3 separate regions of the Homo sapiens genome follow, and regions 1 and 3 are each linked to region 2. The links are contacts of gene promoters, found by promoter capture Hi-C in human tissues and cell types (Jung and others, 2019). All regions are on one chromosome and are shown on one strand. Each heading gives the region's core, a stretch centred on a gene start or on the middle of the fragment in contact. The rest is flanking DNA. Distances are from core to core; before and after follow the strand shown.

What was found. The method cuts DNA at HindIII sites, captures the fragments that hold promoters and counts their contacts. A contact is called where the count stands out against the background at its distance.
Region 1: a contact is called between a fragment that was not itself captured here and the fragment with the promoter of C22orf31 in region 2, in 3 of the 25 tissues and cell types used here (IMR-90 fibroblasts, aorta and mesenchymal stem cells).
Region 3: a fragment that was not itself captured here is called in contact with the fragment with the promoter of C22orf31 in region 2 in 2 of the 25 tissues and cell types used here (liver and mesenchymal stem cells).

Annotation. Positions count from the first base shown.
Region 1 is chr22:29,160,267-29,164,030 of GRCh38, reverse strand. It overlaps a transcript of KREMEN1 not described here. Among named protein-coding and RNA genes, the nearest start is that of EMID1, 44 kb to the left of the region's middle. The HindIII fragment of the contact is 5,684 bases long and covers 1-3,764 here.
Region 2 is chr22:29,059,251-29,063,182 of GRCh38, reverse strand. It overlaps C22orf31 (chromosome 22 open reading frame 31), which reads left to right and starts at 1,352. Exons shown (of 3, transcript NM_015370.2): 1 at 1,352-1,393; 2 at 2,340-2,768. The coding sequence starts at 1,391. RefSeq lists an enhancer at 215-982. The HindIII fragment of the contact is 14,185 bases long and covers 1-3,932 here.
Region 3 is chr22:29,141,734-29,146,010 of GRCh38, reverse strand. It overlaps KREMEN1 (kringle containing transmembrane protein 1), which reads right to left. Exons shown (of 9, transcript NM_001039570.3): 9 at 1-4,067. The coding sequence ends at 3,899. Among named protein-coding and RNA genes, the nearest start is that of EMID1, 62 kb to the left of the region's middle. RefSeq lists enhancers at 1-226, 4,013-4,277. The HindIII fragment of the contact is 4,164 bases long and covers 22-4,185 here.

The sequences.
Region 1 (3,764 bases), core at 941-3,440, 100 kb before region 2:
CTTGAGCCCAGCGGTTTGAGGCTGCAGTGCGCTATGATTCAATCTGTGAATGGGCCCTGCACTCCAGCCTGGGCAACATAGCAAGACCTCGTTTTTTTTTTCAACTTTTATTTTAGATGTAGGGCGTACATACGCAGGTTTGTTACGTGGGTGTATTGCGTGATGCTGAGGTTTGGGATATGAATGATCCCATCAGCCAGGTGGTGAGCATAGTTCCCAAGAGTTAGTTTTTTCAACCCTTGACCCCTTCTCTCCCTTCCCCCCTTAGTAGTCCCCAGTGTCTACTGTTGCCATCTTTATGTCCCTGAGTACCTGTATTAGTCTGTTCTCACACTGTTATAAAGAAATGCCTGAGGCCGGGCGTGGTGGCTCATGCCTGTAATCCCAGCACTTCGGGAGGCTGAGGTGGGTGGATCACTTGAGGTCAGGAGTTCCAGACCAACCTGGCCAACATGATGAAACCCTGTCTCTACTAAAAATACAAAAATTAGCTGGGCGTGGTGGTGGCCCCTGTAATCCCAGCTATTCGGGAGACTGAGGTAAGAGAATCGTTTGAACCCGGGAGGCGGATATTGCAGTGAGCCGAGTTCGCGCCACTGCACTCCAGCCTGGGCGATGAGAGTGAAACTCCATCTCAAAAAAACAAAACAAGAAAGAAATACCTGAAACTGGGTAATTTATAAAGGAAAGAGGCTTAATTGACTCACAGTTTCGCATTATTTGCTGGGGAGGCCTCAGGAAACTTACAAGCATGGCGGAAGGCAAAAGGAGAAGCAGACACCTCCTTCAAGAGATGGCAGGAGAGCGTGAGAGCTAGAGCAGGAAAAAATTCCACTTTTAAAACCATCAAATCTCGCGACATTCACTCACTATCACGAGAACGGCGGGGCGGTGGGGAATTGCCCCGGTAATCCTTCCCTCCCTCAACACGTGGGGATTACAGGTCCCTCCTTGGCAAGCAGGGATTACGATTCGAGATGAGATTTGTGTGAGGACACAGAGCCAAACCATATCAGTACCCAATGTTTATGGTTTTATGTACTTGTGAATGGCCTCCAGCTGGATCTGTATTGCTGCAAAGTACATGATTTAATTCTTTTTTATGATTATGTAGTATTCCACAATGTATATGTACTATGATTTCTTTATCTAATCCACCATTGATGGGCACCTACGTTGATTCCTTGTCTTTGCTATTGTGAATAGTGCCGCAATGCACACACAAGTGCCTATGTCATTTTGGTATAATACTTTGTTTCCTTTTGGATATATACCCAATAATGGAATTGCTTTTTTTTCTTTTTTTCTTTTTTTTTGTGTGACGGAGTTTTGCTCTTGTTGCCCAGGCTGGAATGCAGTGGCACAATCTCGGTTCACTGCAGCCTCCACCTCCAGGGTTCAAGCAATTCTCCTGCCTCCCGAGTAGCTGAGATTACAGGCATCTGCCACCACGCCCAGCTAATTTTCTGTATTTTTAGTGGAAACGGGGTTTCACCATGTTGGCCAGGCTGGTCTTGAACTCCTGACCTCAGTTCATCCACTTGCCTCAGCCTCCCAGAGTGCTGGGATTATAGGTGTGAGCCACTGTGCCCGGCCGGCATTGCTTTTCTTGTTCCAAGGGGGAATGCTTCAGTGTTTGCCTATTCAGTATGATGTTGGCTGTGGGTTTGTCATAGATGGCTCTTATTATTTTGAGGTACATTCCTTCGATGCCTAGTTTCTTGAGGGTTTTTATCACGAAAGGATGTTGGAGTTTATTGAAAGCATTTTCTGCATCTATTGGGATGATGGTTTTTGTTTGTAATTCTGTTTATGTGGTGAATCACATTTATTGATTCATGCATGTTGAACCAATCTTGCATCACAGGAATGAAACCTACTTGATCATAGTGAATTAATCTTTTTTTTTTTTTTGAGGTAGAGTCTCGCTCTGTTATTCAGGCTAGAGTGCAGTGACACAATCTCGGCTCACTGCAACCTCCACCTCCAGGTTCAAGTGATTCTCCTGCCTCAGCCTCCCGAGGAGCTGGGATTATAGACATGCACCACCATACCTGGCTAATTTTTTTGTATTTTTAGTAGAGATGGGGTTTCGCCATGTTGGTCAGGCTGGTCTCGAACTTATGGCCTCTAGTGATCTATCCACCTCAGCCTCCCAAAGTGCTGGGATTACAGCATGAGCCACCACCCGGCCAACTTTTTGATGTGCTGTTGAATTCAGTTTGCTAGTATTTTGTTGAGGATTGTTGTGTCTATGTTCATCAGGGATATTGGCCTGAAGCTTTCTTTTTTCACTGTGTCTTTGCCAGGTTTTGAGGTCAGGGTGATGCTGGCTTCATAGAATGAGTTAGAGAAGAGTTCCTCCTACCTGATTTTTTGGAATAGTTTCAGTAGAATTGGTAGCAGCTCTTCCTTGTACATCTGGTGGAATGTGGCTGTAAATATAACTGGTCCAAAGCATTTTTTGGCTGGTAAGTTTTTTAGTACCAATTCAATATCTTTTTTTTTTTTTTTTTTTTTTTTTGAGATGGAGTCTCACTCTGTCACCCAGGCTGGAGTGCAGTGGCGCAATCTCAGCTCACTGCAAGCTCTGCCTCCCGGGTTCACGCCATTCTCCTGCCTCAGCCTCCCAAGTAGTTGGGACTACAGGCGCCTGCCACCACGCCTGGCTAATTTTTTGTATTTTTAGTACAGACGGGGTTTCATCATGTTAGCCAGGATGGTCTCGATCTCCTGACCTCATGATCTGCCCACCTTGGCCCCCCAAAGTGCTGGGATCACAGGCATGAGCCACCACGCCTGGCCAGTGCTGATTCAATTTCTGAACATGATATTGATTTGTTCAGTCTTTCAGTTTCTTCCTGATTCACTCTTGGGAGATGGTGTGTTTCCAGGAATTTATCTATTGCCTCTAGATTTTCTAGTTTATGTGTGCAGAGGTGTTCATAATAGTCTCTGAGGATCTTTTGTATTGTGGGGTCCCTTATTACAAGTGACACATTTGTTATTTCTGATTTTGCTTATTTGATCTCTCTTTCTTTGTTAATCTAGCTAGCGGTTTACTGATCCTGTTTATCCTTTCAAATAATCAACTTTTGGTTTTGCTGATTCTTTGTATGAATTTTTGTGTCTCAATTTCATTAAGTTCTACTCTGATTTTAGTTATTTCTTTTCTTCTGCTATCTTCTGGGTTAGCTTGTTCTTGTTTTTCTAGTTCCTCTATGTGCGATATTAGATGGTTAATCTGAGGTCTAACTTCTTGAGGTAGGCATTGAGCACCATCAGCTTTCCTCTTAACACTGCTTTTGCTGCATCCCAGAGATTTTGGTATTTTGTATCTCTGTTTTCATTTCTTTCAAAGAATTTTTTTGATTTTGTGCCTTTATTTTGTTGTTTACCCCCAAAATCATTCAGGAGCAAGTCATTTAATTTTCATGTAATTGTATGGTTTTGAGAGATCTTCTTAATTTTTTTTTTTTTTTTTTTTTTTTGAGACGGAGTCTCGGTCTGTCACCCAGGCTGGAGTGCAGTGGCATGATCTCGGCTCACTGCAACCTCCATCTCCCAGGTTCAAGTGATTCTCCTGCCTCAGCCTCCCGAGTAGCTGGGATTACAGGCACCTGCCACCATGCTTAGCTAATTTTTTTTTTTTTTGTATTTTTAGTTGAGACAGGGTTTCACCATGTTGGGCAGGCTGGTCTCGAACTCCTGACCTCAAGTGATCCACCTGCCTTGGCCTCCCGAAGTGCTAGGATTACAGGAGT
Region 2 (3,932 bases), core at 103-2,602:
AGCAGAGTCATTGAGTAAAAGACCTAGCAGAGTAAATCTAACGGATGAGTGTGTGGAAAGATGAGGTGCAGGAAAGCCAAACTCAAGATGGAGAAGGAGAAAAGAGAAACAGATGACCTACTCCTATTATGCCTTTTTTTGCTTGACATTTCCCTCCTGTCCCTGCTTTGCAGAGTAAAGACAGATGGTAATTTCCAGGTAGCCCAGGAGCCCGGTGCCATTTTTCCAAGACTGACCAGCTTTGAAAAGACTCTTGCCTGCCCAGTCTCCAGACATTCGCAAACTCTTCCCAAAGACAAACCCTTTCCAAAGCCCTGCTCTAAAATCGACCCAGCTCTTAGGAGGTGAGGCCAGGGCTCGCCACTGAAAGGGAGCAATTGTCCTCTCAACTGTCTGTGGGTCCAGCTGCCATAGGCCTGGAGGTGGTTCCACCACAGCCTGTGGTGCGGTCCGCCTGCAGGCTCTGATTCACTCCAGGGACAACACTTAAAAACGCAAGCAGGCAACACATGCGATTCCAGGAGCCCCTGCCAGATTCATACTCTGTTTTTCCATCATTTCACTGGCCTCCCCCTCAGGAGGGAGGCTCCTGAGGCATTTTACAAATAAAAGAATCAAACCCACCAACAGGACGAGCACCTGATAAGCAGTGAGGCATTGCCCAAGAGTTCCCAGGAAGAGGCGGCTTTGTTCTCCTTTCAAGCCCTTGACACTGCTAACAGCTCTAATTACTGCATTTGCCATGGGATGTAAAAGAAACCCACATTCCAGAAACCATGTAGTCTTCCCGGGAGAGACATGCAGGGAAAGGTGCCCAGGTCTGCAGGAACGTGTTCTTTCATTCCTGGTCCCTAACCTTGGCAGCTGTTCTGAGAACTTAACAGTGCCTCCTTTATGTACATGAAGGAGGGCACTTTTGCACATGTAGGGATGCATCTCACTACCCATATCCCCAAATCTGGTCTGCATATTTGACTACATTTCCTGCAAAACATACTTCTTAAGAACATGAAGATCTTCAAAATTCATCCAAGCCATTTTGGGGGAAATGAGGACTTCAGAAGTTTCTGAGGCTAGAAGCAAAACCGTATAGAACTTCTTCCCACATAATTTAACTATAAAATCTGATGATGTAACACCCACCCACACCCACATCACAAACCAAAGTGACATCACAAATACTAGAGATAATGGCTCAAAGCTGCCTGCATTGAGCCCACATCTAAACAAACAGCAATTTGCCCATATGTGACTAAGGCAGAGAAAGACAGGTGACTAGAAATATTAAAACAAAAACAAAAAAAAAGAGAGAGAGAGAAAAAGGAAAGAGAAAATACATATTTCTTCCCCTTACTAAGCTAGCGAAAATAAAATTTAAGGCAACTGAAATATGGTAAGGTGATTTTATTTCTATAGATGACATTTCTTAGAAAGCCAGATCTCTTTAAATATGTGATTCTAATCTATCCAAATTGTTCTGTTGCTCTTAGTTGGTCCCAGGAAATGGAGGCCGGCAGCATTAATGTTTTCGTGTTGCTTTTATGGTCCCCAGAGTATATTGATTTCCCTGTGAATGAGCTCTTCTTGGTGCATGGCAGTTGGTTAGAAAGTGTATTCAGCCGAACATGGTGGCTCATGCTGGTAATCCCAGCACTTTGGGAGGCTGAGGCGGGCGGATCATCTGAGGTGGGGAGTTCGAGGCCAGCCTGACCAACATGGAGAAACCCTGTCTCTACTAAAAATACAACATCAGCTGGGTGCGGTGGTGCATGCCTGTAATCTCAACTACTTCGGAGGCTGAGGCAGAAGAATCCCTTGAGCCCGGGAGGCGGAGGTTGCAGTGAGCCAAGATCACGCCATTGCACTCCAGCCTGGGCAACAAGAGCTAAACTCCGTCCCCCCCACACACAAAAAAAGAAAGTGTAAAGCGTATTCAGGGCTTGGCAGAACTTACCGGCTGTCATGTCTGTGTTGCAGCATGGTTGAGTGTCTACAGCTCATATGGAAGTCTTGAGTGACCCTGCCGTCCGTATCTTTCCAGCAGGCAGGAATTGTCTTCAATTCCTTGTGAACCCTCCCTGACCCCCGACTTCCTGCCCTGGCATGCTATGTTCTTTGAGAGCCTGAATATTACTGTAACCTTGTGGAGTGACTATCTCCTCCCTACTTGGTATAAAAGGCTTTGGTGAACAGGAGAGGACATATAGTAAATTTCTAAGAACTGGGTGGAAGGAATGGCCTATAAAAAGATGTTAATATTTTGCCTTCAAAGTAGACCTTTTATTCTCTGCTGAAGAACGGTCCTTTTAAAATTCATTTCTCCCTCCTTATAATTCTAGCACCCAATCAATGTGAGACGAGACCCCAGCATCCCTATCTATGGACTCCGACAGTCCATCTTATTAAATACCAGGCTTCAGGACTGCTATGTGGACTCACCGGCTCTCACCAACATCTGGATGGCCAGAACATGTGCAAAGCAGAACATTAATGCCCCAGCACCAGCTACCACTTCCTCTTGGGAAGTTGTAAGGAACCCATTAATTGCCAGTTCCTTCTCCCTGGTTAAGCTTGTACTCAGGCGGCAACTGAAGAATAAGTGCTGCCCACCACCATGCAAGTTTGGAGAAGGAAAACTCTCGAAGAGATTAAAGCACAAGGACGATTCAGTGATGAAAGCCACCCAGCAGGCCAGGAAAAGAAACTTCATCAGTTCCAAGAGCAAGCAGCCAGCAGGGCATAGGAGGCCTGCAGGAGGCATCAGAGAGGTAGACGAGGACCAGTGGTGGGGAAAATGTGACTGGCGAGGGGAGGGAAAAGGTAAAGCCAGAGAACACTTAACGGTTGAGATTATATGGCGTGCGGCTACCGCCTATAATCTCAGCACTTTGGGAGGCCAAGCAGGGAGGATCACTTGAGCTCAGAGAGTTCAAGACCAGCCTGGGCAACATAGGGAGACCTCATCTCTACTAAAAAAAAAAAAAAAAAGCCAGGCATGATGCACATGCCTGTGATCCCAGCTACTTGGGAGGCTAAGGAGGGAGGATTACTTGAACCCAGGAGGTTGAGGCTGCAGTGAGCCATGATTGCACTACTGCATTCCTGATTGGGCAACAGAGCAAGACCCTGTCTAAAAAATAAAAAAAAAAAAAAAAAAAAAAGAAAAGAAAAAAAGATCTATACCAAGTGAAGGAAATCCTAAAGTTGAAGACAGAATGTGGGGAGGAGGTGTAGCATGACAGAGTGGAAGAATGCCCCAGATTTTGGGGTCATGCTATTTATCATTTACACTATGCTTAGTTCTAGAGAAGGATGAGGTGGCTTTCATAAGCACAGACTTGACATGAAGGAAAAATAAGGGTGAGAAGGAAGGCTAGGATATGGGTAGTGCATGCTTGTGCACACACACACACACACACACAACCAGTGGTCAGCTATGGATCTGGATTGTGAGCGTCCACATGGAGAACTTGGCCTACGAAGGCCTGATTGGAATCCAGGTATGTTACCCCGTGGTGGCCAGCAGGCCATCAGGGTTCAAATCCCAACTCGGACTGTAATTGAGGACGACCTCGGGCTTAATTTCTTTGTGCCTTGATATTATCATATTAAATGGGGGATAACGGCCCTTCCCTCATAGGGCTTCATGAATGTTAAATAATACATGCAAAAGGCTTTTGAACAGAGCCTGGCAGAGGGTAAATAATTAGGATCTTGCGTGGCATTCAATAGATGACAGCTGTTATTAACCTTCTAGCTGTGTGGCCTTGGGCAAACCAATTCCAATTTCTTTGCCTATAAAGTTGTCTCCTGCTGACCTCACAGGGTTATGGGGAACACATGCAGTGGTATGTACATAAAGGAATTCAGTAAACTAGAACATGCTAGACAAATGTTGGTTGTTGCTGTAACCAAGACTCTGGGACACAAAT
Region 3 (4,277 bases), core at 854-3,353, 82 kb before region 2:
CGTGCAGTGCCAGGATGCATCGGGGCTGGGTGATGGCCTGGCTGGGCTGCAGGCAGATCCTGAGCCCGGCCAGGAAGGCTCCTGCCTGGGCTGACAGTGGGGCATGTGGGTGGAGCCGCACCCAGGCACGCCCGTGGGTTCTACCCGAGGGCCAGGACAGCTGAACTTGCTAGTGCTTTGATCTCTGTGGGCTTCTGGCCGATTGGAGTCTTGAGCCAGAGCCCACTCTTCAGAAGTTAGAGCAGCCTGGTTTCCTCGCTCACGCCCAGAGAGGCCTCAAGCCTGTCCTGACGTGGGGGACAGGGCGGGTGAAGTCACTCGGGTTCACTCCTACTCATTCTCTGCTTTGCAAGCAACTGGACAAACGGGGAAGAACAGGGCACCGTGTGCCTCCCGCCTGCCTTCTCAGAAGGGCCAAGGACACTGAGAAACGCTGCTAGAAACTAGGGGCCACAGCTGGCCAAGACACTGTCACCACGGAGAGTGACAAGATCGGCTGGTGAGGGCTCTCCTGTTGGCACAGGTACCAAGAAGGCAGGGCCTGGCGCCAGCGGGGAACAGGGGTGAGGATGGCACGCAGGCCCAGTGCAGCCTCCTCCCACGCTCTGTCACCTCAGGAGGGGCTTTGGCCAGGGTGCTTTCAGAGCTCTGTCCACAGTGGTCCCCGAAGCCCCTCCCCTGCCTCTCCTGCAGTCTTCTGCCATGGGTTCTGACTGACTTTCCCAGGGTTACCCTCTTTTCGCCACCTCCAACCCCCACTTTATCTCATCTAAGGAGTTTCCTAAAAGTTCAAGTGCCACCTCCTCCATGCTCCTGGAAGCCCACGTCATCTCTTCTGGAGCAGTTTCTTTCTCAGGTGTTTACCTAGCCGCAGTGGCCTTCTGTGGGGTGTCGCTGACTTTCTACCTGGTTCTAACTGAGTCCATAGCCAGGCTGCGGCAGGAGCCAGTGCCCACGGAGGCTTAGCCTGGGATGATTTACAGCCCTCCTGCCCGTACGCTGTCCTGAGCCAGATTTGGGTTTCCCGGGGCTGCTCCACGGATCGTAAGTTGATCCTAGAGGCGCTGGGCCATGCCAGGGCGAGGCAGGAAGAGAAGCGCTGGGGCATCCCCAGCACCTCCCAGGCCCTCCGAGGAAGTGCTGCCCCCGCTGCAGGCTGTGACAGCACATTGGCTTGGGCATGGCCTCCCCTGACTGAGATGTGAGGAGGGCAAGGTGGGCATTTGGGCTGCAGGACACCCCAGAGGCCAGTGGTCAGTGTCAGCCCCAGGCAACTGAACAACTGCCCCCTGGCCGGGTGAACTCTTCCTGGGGCCACGTGCCACATTCCCTTTGTGCTGCACATGGATCTATTCACAGCACAGGACCCGTTGGGACGACACACACCTGACACTTATGTTTGAGAGAGATTCCACAAACAGCATGAATAGCTTGGAGGGGAGACTGCACGTGTTGGTATGTTTCCAGCGGTCCTCCTGTGTGACAGGCCTCTTGGAGACAGAGGCCTGCGGACAGCTGCTCTTTCCAGATCAAAGCATGAAGGCTGCACCGAGCAGCTCTGTGCCCTCAGCAGGCCTCCCACGGGGCCTGGGGTGGCAGTCCTGCCCCTGCCTGCCTGTGACACATTGCTCCGTTTCCCTCCTCTGAAGGCCCCTCTGCCTGAAGCTCCAAGCACCTCTCCTGAACTCAGGCTGCCGAGTGCCACCTCTCCCTGCAGACACTTCCTGTGTGGCCCTCTTTCCTCCCAGGGGCGGCAGGTGCAGAGGTGTTTCCAGAACCTCAGTAGGAGCCCCAGCAGGCAGTGGCTCAGGGCTTGGGGGAGGTAGGCAAAGTGCTGCAAAGAGGAAACGCCAAAGCCAGAGGCGCAACAATCACCCAGGCCCAAGTGCCTTGTGGAGAGGCACGCTCTGACGAGGGCCTAGGCCTGGCCAGCAGAGGCACAGGCTGCTTTTCTCAGCTGCTGTTGACAAAGCCTGATTCCAGATGGCAAGGACTTTTAAATTAGTGATGGCACTTACTCTCCCAACCAGCAGCCACTACAGCTGCAGCACTCAATCTTAGGAGGAGCTCCTTGGAGGAGCTCCAATTCCCAAACCCACCCTCTTCTGGCACCAATCTCTGCAGCCCACCTCCCTATCTAAGGGACAGGGTGGCAAGGGACTGGGGACAAGAGTGCTCTCCTTCCCCACTGAGCCATTCCTAACCCCACTTGGTCCCCACAGGAGGGGCAGAGAGCACGGATGGCCCTTGGAGTGTTTTTTTTTTTTTTGAGACAGAGTCTTGCACTGTCACCCAGGCTGGAGTGCAGTGGCGTGATCTCTGCTCACTGCAAGCTCCGCCTCCCGGGTTCACGCCATTCTCCTGCCTCAGCCTCCCGAGCAGCTGGGACTACAGGCGCCCACCACCACACCCAGCTAATTTTTTGTATTTTTAGTAGAGACGGGGTTTCACCATCTTAGCCAGGATGGTTTCGATCACCTGACCTCGTGATCCACCCGCCTCAGCCTCCCAAAGTGCTGGGATTACAGGCATGAGCCACCGCGCCCGGCCCTTGGGGTGTTTTTTATCTTTTAACACGGGGGACACCAGAAGGAAGGACCACAGGCCCCATGTCTCATATAGTGCTGCCTAAGGGCAAAAACACAAGATTGATACTCTCCACTCTGAACTGAGAGTTAGCTGAGCCAATCATGGAGAGACTGAGGCCTGGCTCAGGTTCCATAGGACCATGAGCTGCTCAGTGGCAAGGCTGATAAAGCCAATCCTGAGTACTTACTGAGTGCCCATAAAAGCTTGCAGGAGAATTTATTGCATGAGTAAATGAATGGATTTTTTTTGTTTATTTGTGTTTTGTTTTTTTGAGACAGAGTCTCACTCTTGTCACCCAGGCTGGAGTGCAGTGGTGCGATCTCGGCTCACTGCAATCTCAGCCTCCTGGGTTCAAGCTGTTCTTCTGTCTCAGCCTTCTGAGTAGCTGGGATTACAGGCGCCTGCCACCACGCCTGACTAATTTTTATATTTTTAGTAGAGACGGGGTTTCACCATGTTGGCCAGGCTGGTCTCGAACTCCTGACCTCAGGTGATCTGCCCGCCTCAGCCTCCCACAGTGCTGGGATTACAGGCATGAGCCATCGCGCCCAGCTGAATGGATGTTTTATATGACCAAAGCTCTTAAAGCTTTCCCTGCAGCTCCATGAGCTATGGAAAGAAGAATCTAGAAAGAAGCCCATGTGTAAGGTATCAGGTTTGATATAAATGGGGGTCACTAGATCTTATTCTCAGACCCTCCCAGGCTGAAGGAGGCCCACCCTAGTCCAGCATCTGGAGAGCAAAGCTGCCGGGGCAGCACAGACACTGCCCTCTTTACACCTCGCTAATGTCCAGGAGTCCGCACTTGTATGGGACCAACTCCCAAGAGTACCTGAGAGTTCTCCCTGTCTGGCCCTGTTCCAAGACATAAAGATCAGGAGAAACTGATTTGTGTGTGGACAAAAATAGAGAAGCAAGAAAAATTCAATGTAACTAAAGCTACCCACCACCTGACAGCCATCTAGAATGTACCTGAGCCCTGTGCCAGCCATGACCACCTCTGTCATCTCAGCCTCACTGTCCTGACACCCCCACTGCTAGCTAGATCAGAGAGAGATGCAGAGAGGGCCGGGCCCCAGGGCTTTGAGTCTCTCTCCTAAGTGCAATCGATGAAGCAGGAGGAATCCAGGCTCTGCCTGCCCTGGCAGCAGGGTGCCTCTTCCTAGTCTGTAGGAGGAGGGTTTCCCCGAAGAGGCCGAGGCAGAGGGAGAGGAGGGGAAGAGTCTGTCAGAGAAGAACCACAGGAGAGGTTGACCACGGCAGCCTTGAGCTCAAAGAGGGACCTCAAGTCCTAGGCACAGTGGGGTTTTTAGTCACTCACAAGGGGATTGCGGTCATCTTGTTGACTCTGACCCTTGAGTTTCTTCTTAAAGATGGAAATTGAAGTGGAAGGCTTGTAAAAAATGCTCCAGATTTCCCCCGAAGTCCCTGGTTGATGACAATCCCTAAGGTCCCCTGAAGCAGGAACACGATGGGATCTGTCAAGCAGATAAATATTTTTTCCAATAGATTAGAACAACGCAAACAACCTACCATCTCACGAGATACTGTATCTATGAAATGGGGTGGGGCAAGGTCTTGGGAAGGACCTCACAGCCACCTCTAAAGATCTGAAGGACTAGCGTGCAACTGAAATGTGGCCTGTGGGCAGCAGGGGCTGAGGCCAAGTGCAGCAGGGCAGCGTCTGC